Linked DNA regions of Homo sapiens: region 1 is linked to region 2. The links are contacts of gene promoters, found by promoter capture Hi-C in human tissues and cell types (Jung and others, 2019). All regions are on one chromosome and are shown on one strand. Each heading gives the region's core, a stretch centred on a gene start or on the middle of the fragment in contact. The rest is flanking DNA. Distances are from core to core; before and after follow the strand shown. Region 1 holds the start of ARHGEF15 (Rho guanine nucleotide exchange factor 15). Region 2 holds the start of FXR2 (FMR1 autosomal homolog 2).

Region 1 (3,268 bases), core at 206-2,705, 700 kb before region 2:
GTGTGTGGTGTGTGGCCCTTTAGGAAGTTCTCGGTGTGAGTGTCTGAGATAGCGGTGCCAGGGTGGGTGTGCCATGTGTGTTCTGCGCTGTCTGGGTCTGGGTGCCGTGGGCGCGCCTGTCCGCCGGGCCTGGGCTGCGAGGCGTGCATCACTGTTTCCCTGCTCCACTGGCCCTCCGCCCCCCATTTCCCAGTTCCTCTCTCCGGACTCTCCCTTTCCGGATTATTTTTAGTCTCCTTTTCCTGCCATCAAGATTCTTGGAGCCTCTGACCCCCGGAGATGAGGAGGTCCTGGCGAGGTCTCTCCTGTCCTGCGTCTGATCATCCCCGCCTGCCCTAGGGTCTGGTCACAGAGAGAGGCCCAGCACAGCCATGGGTCTTGCCAAGAGGCCTGGGGAGGTGGCTGGGAGAATGAACCGAAGGACAGGACCAGTCGGGCCAGGGCGCTGCGGCCTGGGTTTCTCTTCCTCCCTCGAGGAAGGAGGCTACAATCCCAAGAAGGCTGCAGGGTCAGGGCTGGGAAGCAGAGGAACCCCCAAACTCCCTTCAGGGGTCAGCAGGAGAGTCAGACCCCTCCAGGCCTCGGACTGGCTCCTTGAGAAATGATGAGGGGGGAACAAGGGGGTTGTAGATGATGGGTCTTGCAGCTCAGTGGCCTCTGTGTTCTGGCAGAAAGTCATTTAGCAAAGTGACCCACACGGTAGTCTTGACCACTGGCCAACTCCTCCCCAGCCCCTGCCCCTCAGGGATCCCACCCCCTCTCGGGTACCTGCATTTACTTCCTTCCCTACCCCACCCTTAGGAACCCAGGTACTCGGGCCCCAAGCACTCACCCTTGAATCCCCTCCACTCTCAGTCACCTCCCAGGGCTGAGTGAGTAGGGGCAGGAAACAGGAATCAGATCCGCCTCCCAACCGGACACCCCCCCCTCACGAACCACACCACTCTCCACATGCGCACATCACACAGGGCCCCAGGAGACAGAGGTATCCAGGGTCTCAGAGGTTAAAGGGGTCTGGGGAAAAGCTGAAATTCAGGCTTGGAAAGTGTGTGCGCAGGTTCTACCTGCACAGCTGTGTGGATCGGGGCTCATAGGGGTGAGGTGGACAGGGGTAGGGATGAGGACAAGACGGCAATGGCACAGAGCCTGGCTGAGCAGCATGGGTGTCTGGATGCCTCTGTCTCAGCTAAGGGATGCTGCGTGCGTCCCTCCACGGCGAGTCTCACCATCTTTCCCCGACTTGCACCACCACCTGTCTCCTGAGCCGGGTGTGAGCCAACGCCTATTTCACACCCAGGGACCCTCCCGCAGGCTTCCCTCCCTAACTCTGCAGTAGGTCCCCATGAATTTACCTTTATCTTTTTGGAACCAGTTGCTATTTTCAGCCTGTCCTGTCTGCCCCTTGGAGCGAGGAATGCAGGGCTGAGGTTTCCAAGTGTGTGTTCCTGTGATTCTGGGGTGGGAACTCAGGGCCCAGATTGAGATCTCTGCGGAGGAAGCCAGTTCCTCAGCCCCACCCAGCCATTGTGTCTGGCGTGTGTGTGTGTGTGTGTGTGTGTGTGTGTGTGTGTGTGTGTGTTAGAGGAGAGAGAAAAGGGGAGGGCCAGGAGGTAGGACTGAAGAGAGAAGTGTGGACTTGGGGTCTGTCTCCTCCAGGGAGGTATAACATTTGCAGGGGCCCAGGCGTGGTTGCTCATCCTTATAATCCCAGCACTCCAGCACTTTGGGAGGGCAAGGTGGGAGGACCAGCCTCGGCAACATAGTGTGACCCTGTCTCTACAAAAGATTTTTAAAAAATTAGCCGTGGACAGGCCGGGCGAGGTGGCTCACATCTGTAATCCCAGCACTTAGGGGGGCCGAGGCAGGCGGATCACCTGAGGTCAGGAGTTCGAGACCAGCCTGACTAACATAGTGAAACCCCGTTTCTATTAAAAATACAAAAAATTAGCCAAGCATGGTGGCACACGCCTGTAATCCCAGCTAGTCGGGAGGCTGAGGCAGGAGAATTGCTTGAACCCAGGAGGCAGAGGTTGCAGTGAGCCGAGATCGCGCCATTGCACTTCAGCTTGGCCAACAAGAGCGAAATTCCATCTCAAAAGAAAAAAAAAAGCCATAATGGCACACATCTGTGGTCCCAGCTACTCAGGAGGCTGAGGTGGGAAGATTACTTGAGCCCAGGAGTTGGACACTACAGTGAGCCGTGATCGCACCACTGCCCTCCAGCCTGGGCAACAGAGCAATATGCTGTCTGAAAACAATAAAAAATGTGCAGAGGTCGGGCGCAGTGGCTCATGCCTGTAATCCCAGCACTTTGGGAGGCCGAGGCAGGAGGATCACCTGAGGTCAGGAGTTTGAGACCAGCCTGGCCAACATGGTGAAACCCTGTCTCTACTAAAAATACAAAAAAATTAGCCGGGTGTGGTGGCGCACGCCTGTACTACCACCTACTCGGGAGGGTGAAGCAGGAGAATCACTTGAACCCAGGAGGTGGAGGTTGCAATGAGCCAAGATCCTGCCACTGCACTCCAGCCTAGGCAACAGAGCAAGACTCCATCTCAAAAAAAATAAAAATAAAAAATGTCCCAGGAGCCGTGGCTCACGCCTATAATCCTAGCAGATTGGGAGGCCAAGGAGGGTGGATCATCTGAGGCCAGAAGTTTGAGACCAGCCTGGCCAACATGGTGAAACCCCATCTCTACTAAAAAAAAAAAATACAAAAATTAGCTGGGCATGGTGGCGGGCACCTGTAATCCCAGCTGCTCTGGAGGCTGAGGAGAGAGAATCACTTGAACCCAGGAGGTGGCAGTTGCAGTGAGCTGAGATCGTGCCATTGCACTCCAGCCTGGGCAACAAGAGTGAAACTCCATCTCAAAAAAAAAAAAAAAATTAGCCGGGCATGGTGGCACTCGCCTGTAATCCCAGCTACTCAGGAGTCTGAGGCACAAGAATCACTTGAGCCCAGGAGGCGGAGGTTGCAGTGAGCTGAGATCGTGCCATTGCACTCCAGCCTGGGCAACAAGAGTGAAACTCCATCTCAAAAAAAAAAAAAAAATTAGCCAGGCATGGTGGCACTCCCCTGTAATCCCAGAAGAGACTTAATTTTCCAAACAATAAGCCCCAATAAAAACAGCATGAAGCCAATTAAATTTTTTCCAAAAAAAAATTTTTTTTTTGAGACGGAGTCTTGCTCTGTTGCCTAGGCTGGAGTGCAGTGGTGCGATCTCTGCTCACTGCAACCTCCGCCTCCTAGGTTCAAGTGATTCTTCTA
Region 2 (3,272 bases), core at 290-2,789:
TGGGGTTTCACCGTGTTAGCCAGGATGGTCTCGATCTCCTGACCTCGTGATCCGCCCGTCTCGGCCTCCCAAAGTGTTGGGATTATAGGCATGAGCCACCGCGCCCTGCCATTATTATTATTTTTAAAGAAGAAATTTCACTCATTGCCCAGGCTGGAGTGTGGTGGCATGATATCCACTCACTGCAACCTCCACCTTCCTAGGTTCAAGCGATTCTCCTGCCTCAGCCTCCTGAGTAGCTGGGACTCCTTCCGAGTAGCTGGAACTACCACGGCTAATTTTTTGTATTTTAGTAGAGACGAGGTTTCACCATGTTGGCCAGAATGGTCTCCATCTCCTGACCTCGTGATCCGCCCGCCCGTGATCTCGGCCTCCCAAAGTGCTGGGATTACAGGCCTGAGCCACCGCGCCCGTCCTAATTTTTGTATTTTTAGTAGAAACAGGGTTTCGCCCTGTTGAGGCTGGTGTCAAACTTTTGGGCTCAAGTGATCCACCGCCTGAGCCTCCTAAAGTGCTGGGATTACAGGAGTGAGCCACAGCGCCCGTCTGAAACTATTCTTAAAGCTTTCTTTCTATTCTTTCTTTCTTTTTTTTTTTTTTTTGAGACTGAGTCTTGCTCTGTCGCCCAGGCTGGAGTGCAATGGTGCGATCTTGGCTCACTGCAACTTCTGCCTCCCAGGTTCAAGGTAGTCTCCTGCCTCAGCCTCCCGAGTATCTGGGATTACAGGCGCGTGTCACCACGCCCGGCTAATTTTTGTATTTTATTAGATGCGGGGTGGGGGGGGGGGTGGGTTTCACCATTTTGGCCACGCTGGTCTCGAACCCCTGACCTCAGGTGATCCGAGGACCTCAGGTGATCCACCTGCCTCGGCCTCCCAGAGCGCTGGGATTACAGGCGTGAGCCACCGCGCCCGGCCAAAACTTTCATTGTATCACAATCTCTTCAAGGTAAGAGCCATGACTGTTAAATCTACTACAGTAGAGAGTTACAGATTCTTAAAATATCGGCGATGCATACGCGAAGAGGGTAAAGCTCAGCGCGTGCGCACCAAGCACCTTTTTCCTTGCGGCGACTCCTCTTCTTTTTTTTTTCTTTTTGGAGCGTGCGCACCAAGAAAGACAAAGGTGGGGAAAGTGACCAAGCAGTCGTTCAGGCGCATGCCCATCCCTAACTTGTCCAAGCCCGGTGGGGCCAGCGGCGGCGGAGTGGGTGTGGCCTGAGCGCTGTGTGACTGTGCGGACGCCGCCCAATCGGACTGAGCGAGCCCGGCCCCTCCCTCCCCCTGATTGGTTGGTTCTCAGTGTTGTGGGGCGGGGAAAGGAAGAGACGGGGTGGCTGGGCGGTGGAGCGGTGAAGAAAGAAGGCTAATCTTGTTCTGCGCAAGCGCTAGCAAGCGACCAGGAGGGGGAGTGAGAGAGTGAAAGGGAATGTGGAAGCCCCGATGCGCTAGCTGGCGCTAGCTGGGGCTCTAACCTTGACGCCTGCGCGGTGGCCCTCGGGGCCCCGCGCGCAGCGGGCGGGTGCCCGGTGCGCCTGCGCAGTAGGCGGCGGTGGCAGGGGGAGGTGGAGGCTGTGGAGCGGCAGCGGCAGCAGCGGGTCCCGGGACTGAGGCAGCAGCGGGGGCGGCGGCGGGCGGAAGCTGAGGTGACGAAGGCAGCGGCGGCGGCGGCCGTTTCCCTCACGGTGGCGGAGACCAAGGCGGCGGCGGCGGACGGGGAGCGGCCCGGCCCCGGCCCCCTGCTCGTTGGCTGTGGCAGGGCCGCCGTGGGGCCGGCCCGGCTCCCGCCCCCCGCGGCTCCCCCTCCGGCTCCTCCTCCGGGGAGACGCCGGGGGCCTGGCCCGGCCCGCACTCAGACTGCTGCTGCAGCCGCCGCCGGGGGAGTCGGAGGCGGTGGCGGCGCCATGGGCGGCCTGGCCTCTGGGGGGGATGTGGAGCCGGGACTGCCCGTCGAGGTGCGCGGCTCCAACGGGGCCTTCTACAAGGTGAGACGGCGCGCCGACTGGGGACGCCGGTCCTTAGCCCCCTCCCCTGGCCGGAGCAGGAACGCGTGGGGCGGGATCGAGCTTCTGGAGCTGAGTCCTGGCCCTTAGAATCTTGGACCCTTGCTCCAACCCGCAGCCTTCCCTGGGAGACCGCTTAGAGTGAACCCTGTTCCTCTTATTTTTGACCCCTCTAAGGCACCTGCACCTGCTTCTACCCCCATCTCCGGGAGAATGAACTTCAGGCCATTATTGTCCCTGGCTTGGCGCTCCCCGCTCCGCAGGAGAGACCCCTTTACCCAGCTTCTAATTGACTGTGTCCGTTGTCTGGTGGAAGACATACCTTAGACCTTAATCACATCTTCCCCACGATCCAAGCACATGGAGAATTGTCTTTCTTCCACACGGTCCCTTTGGGAAGGCCCTCTGTCCCGTAAAAGATCCTTTCATCTTCCTCAGAGAGGCCTCTGCCTACTGGCTCTGGAACACTCACCCCACTTTCATCTTATATTCCGGTTCCCAAGCCAAGGAGAAATGGTCAGATCCATTTACGACGTTTGGCATCTTTGACCTCAGGAACCCTGGGTTGGATCAGTCAAGTTGCTTCCCAGCCAGCCATAAGGTGGCATCTTTCGCAAGTCTCTCTCCCCACCACACCTTGATCTCAAGACCCACTGCTCTACCATTCTACTCAGGAATGGATTTGAGGTCTCACTTAGACCTCAGATACCTTCAGGTCATTCATATAGTTTCTTCGTCTTGAGGCATGTAAGCTTCATAGTCATAATCTCTAAAAGGATCTCTGAAAGGAAGCTTATGAGGTTCCCTTCTGTTTATCTTAAGATTTCCACTTCTTGAAGACTCTTGGCCAACTATCCCAGTTCGGGAATCTGACAACCTTTTTTGGAAGACGGGATCATCTTTCAAAGACCCTTCCTTATTTCACCTCCCCCTTTGCCCAGGATTTGGTTCCTTAGAACTCCTTATAATACCACCTTCCTTATCTGCTCTGAATCTATTTTCTAGGACATTTTTTTCCCATTTAGATTAAGCCAGAGAGAGCCCTTTCTTGCCTCCCAAGAGTTTTTCTTTGTGTGACTGTTGGTATTCTGAACCTCTTGGATTTGATGCCTGGAATTGTCCTAGAGACTCTCCTGATTTCTGTCTCATTCTTTGATTTCACCCTGGGGAGCTGGGGAAGAGATACCTTCCCATGGCATCACTTGTTAAGAGTGGATCCCCCTTCCCCCTTTCCTTCAGTTCCCCTCAGGCCTTTTTCCCCCACTGTAGT

The links. Contacts are between HindIII fragments. The study calls those that stand out against the background at their distance.
Region 1: the fragment with the promoter of ARHGEF15 here is called in contact with the fragment with the promoter of FXR2 in region 2 in 1 of the 25 tissues and cell types used here (heart left ventricle).

The regions. Positions count from the first base shown.
Region 1 is chr17:8,308,428-8,311,695 of GRCh38, reverse strand. It overlaps ARHGEF15 (Rho guanine nucleotide exchange factor 15), which reads right to left and starts at 1,455. Exons shown (of 16, transcript NM_173728.4): 1 at 1,353-1,455. RefSeq lists an enhancer at 961-1,461. The HindIII fragment of the contact is 11,979 bases long and covers 1-3,268 here.
Region 2 is chr17:7,613,164-7,616,435 of GRCh38, reverse strand. It overlaps FXR2 (FMR1 autosomal homolog 2), which reads left to right and starts at 1,539. Exons shown (of 17, transcript NM_004860.4): 1 at 1,539-1,984. The coding sequence starts at 1,904. It also overlaps a transcript of SHBG not described here. RefSeq lists silencers at 1,295-1,344, 1,455-1,984. The HindIII fragment of the contact is 5,915 bases long and covers 1-1,659 here.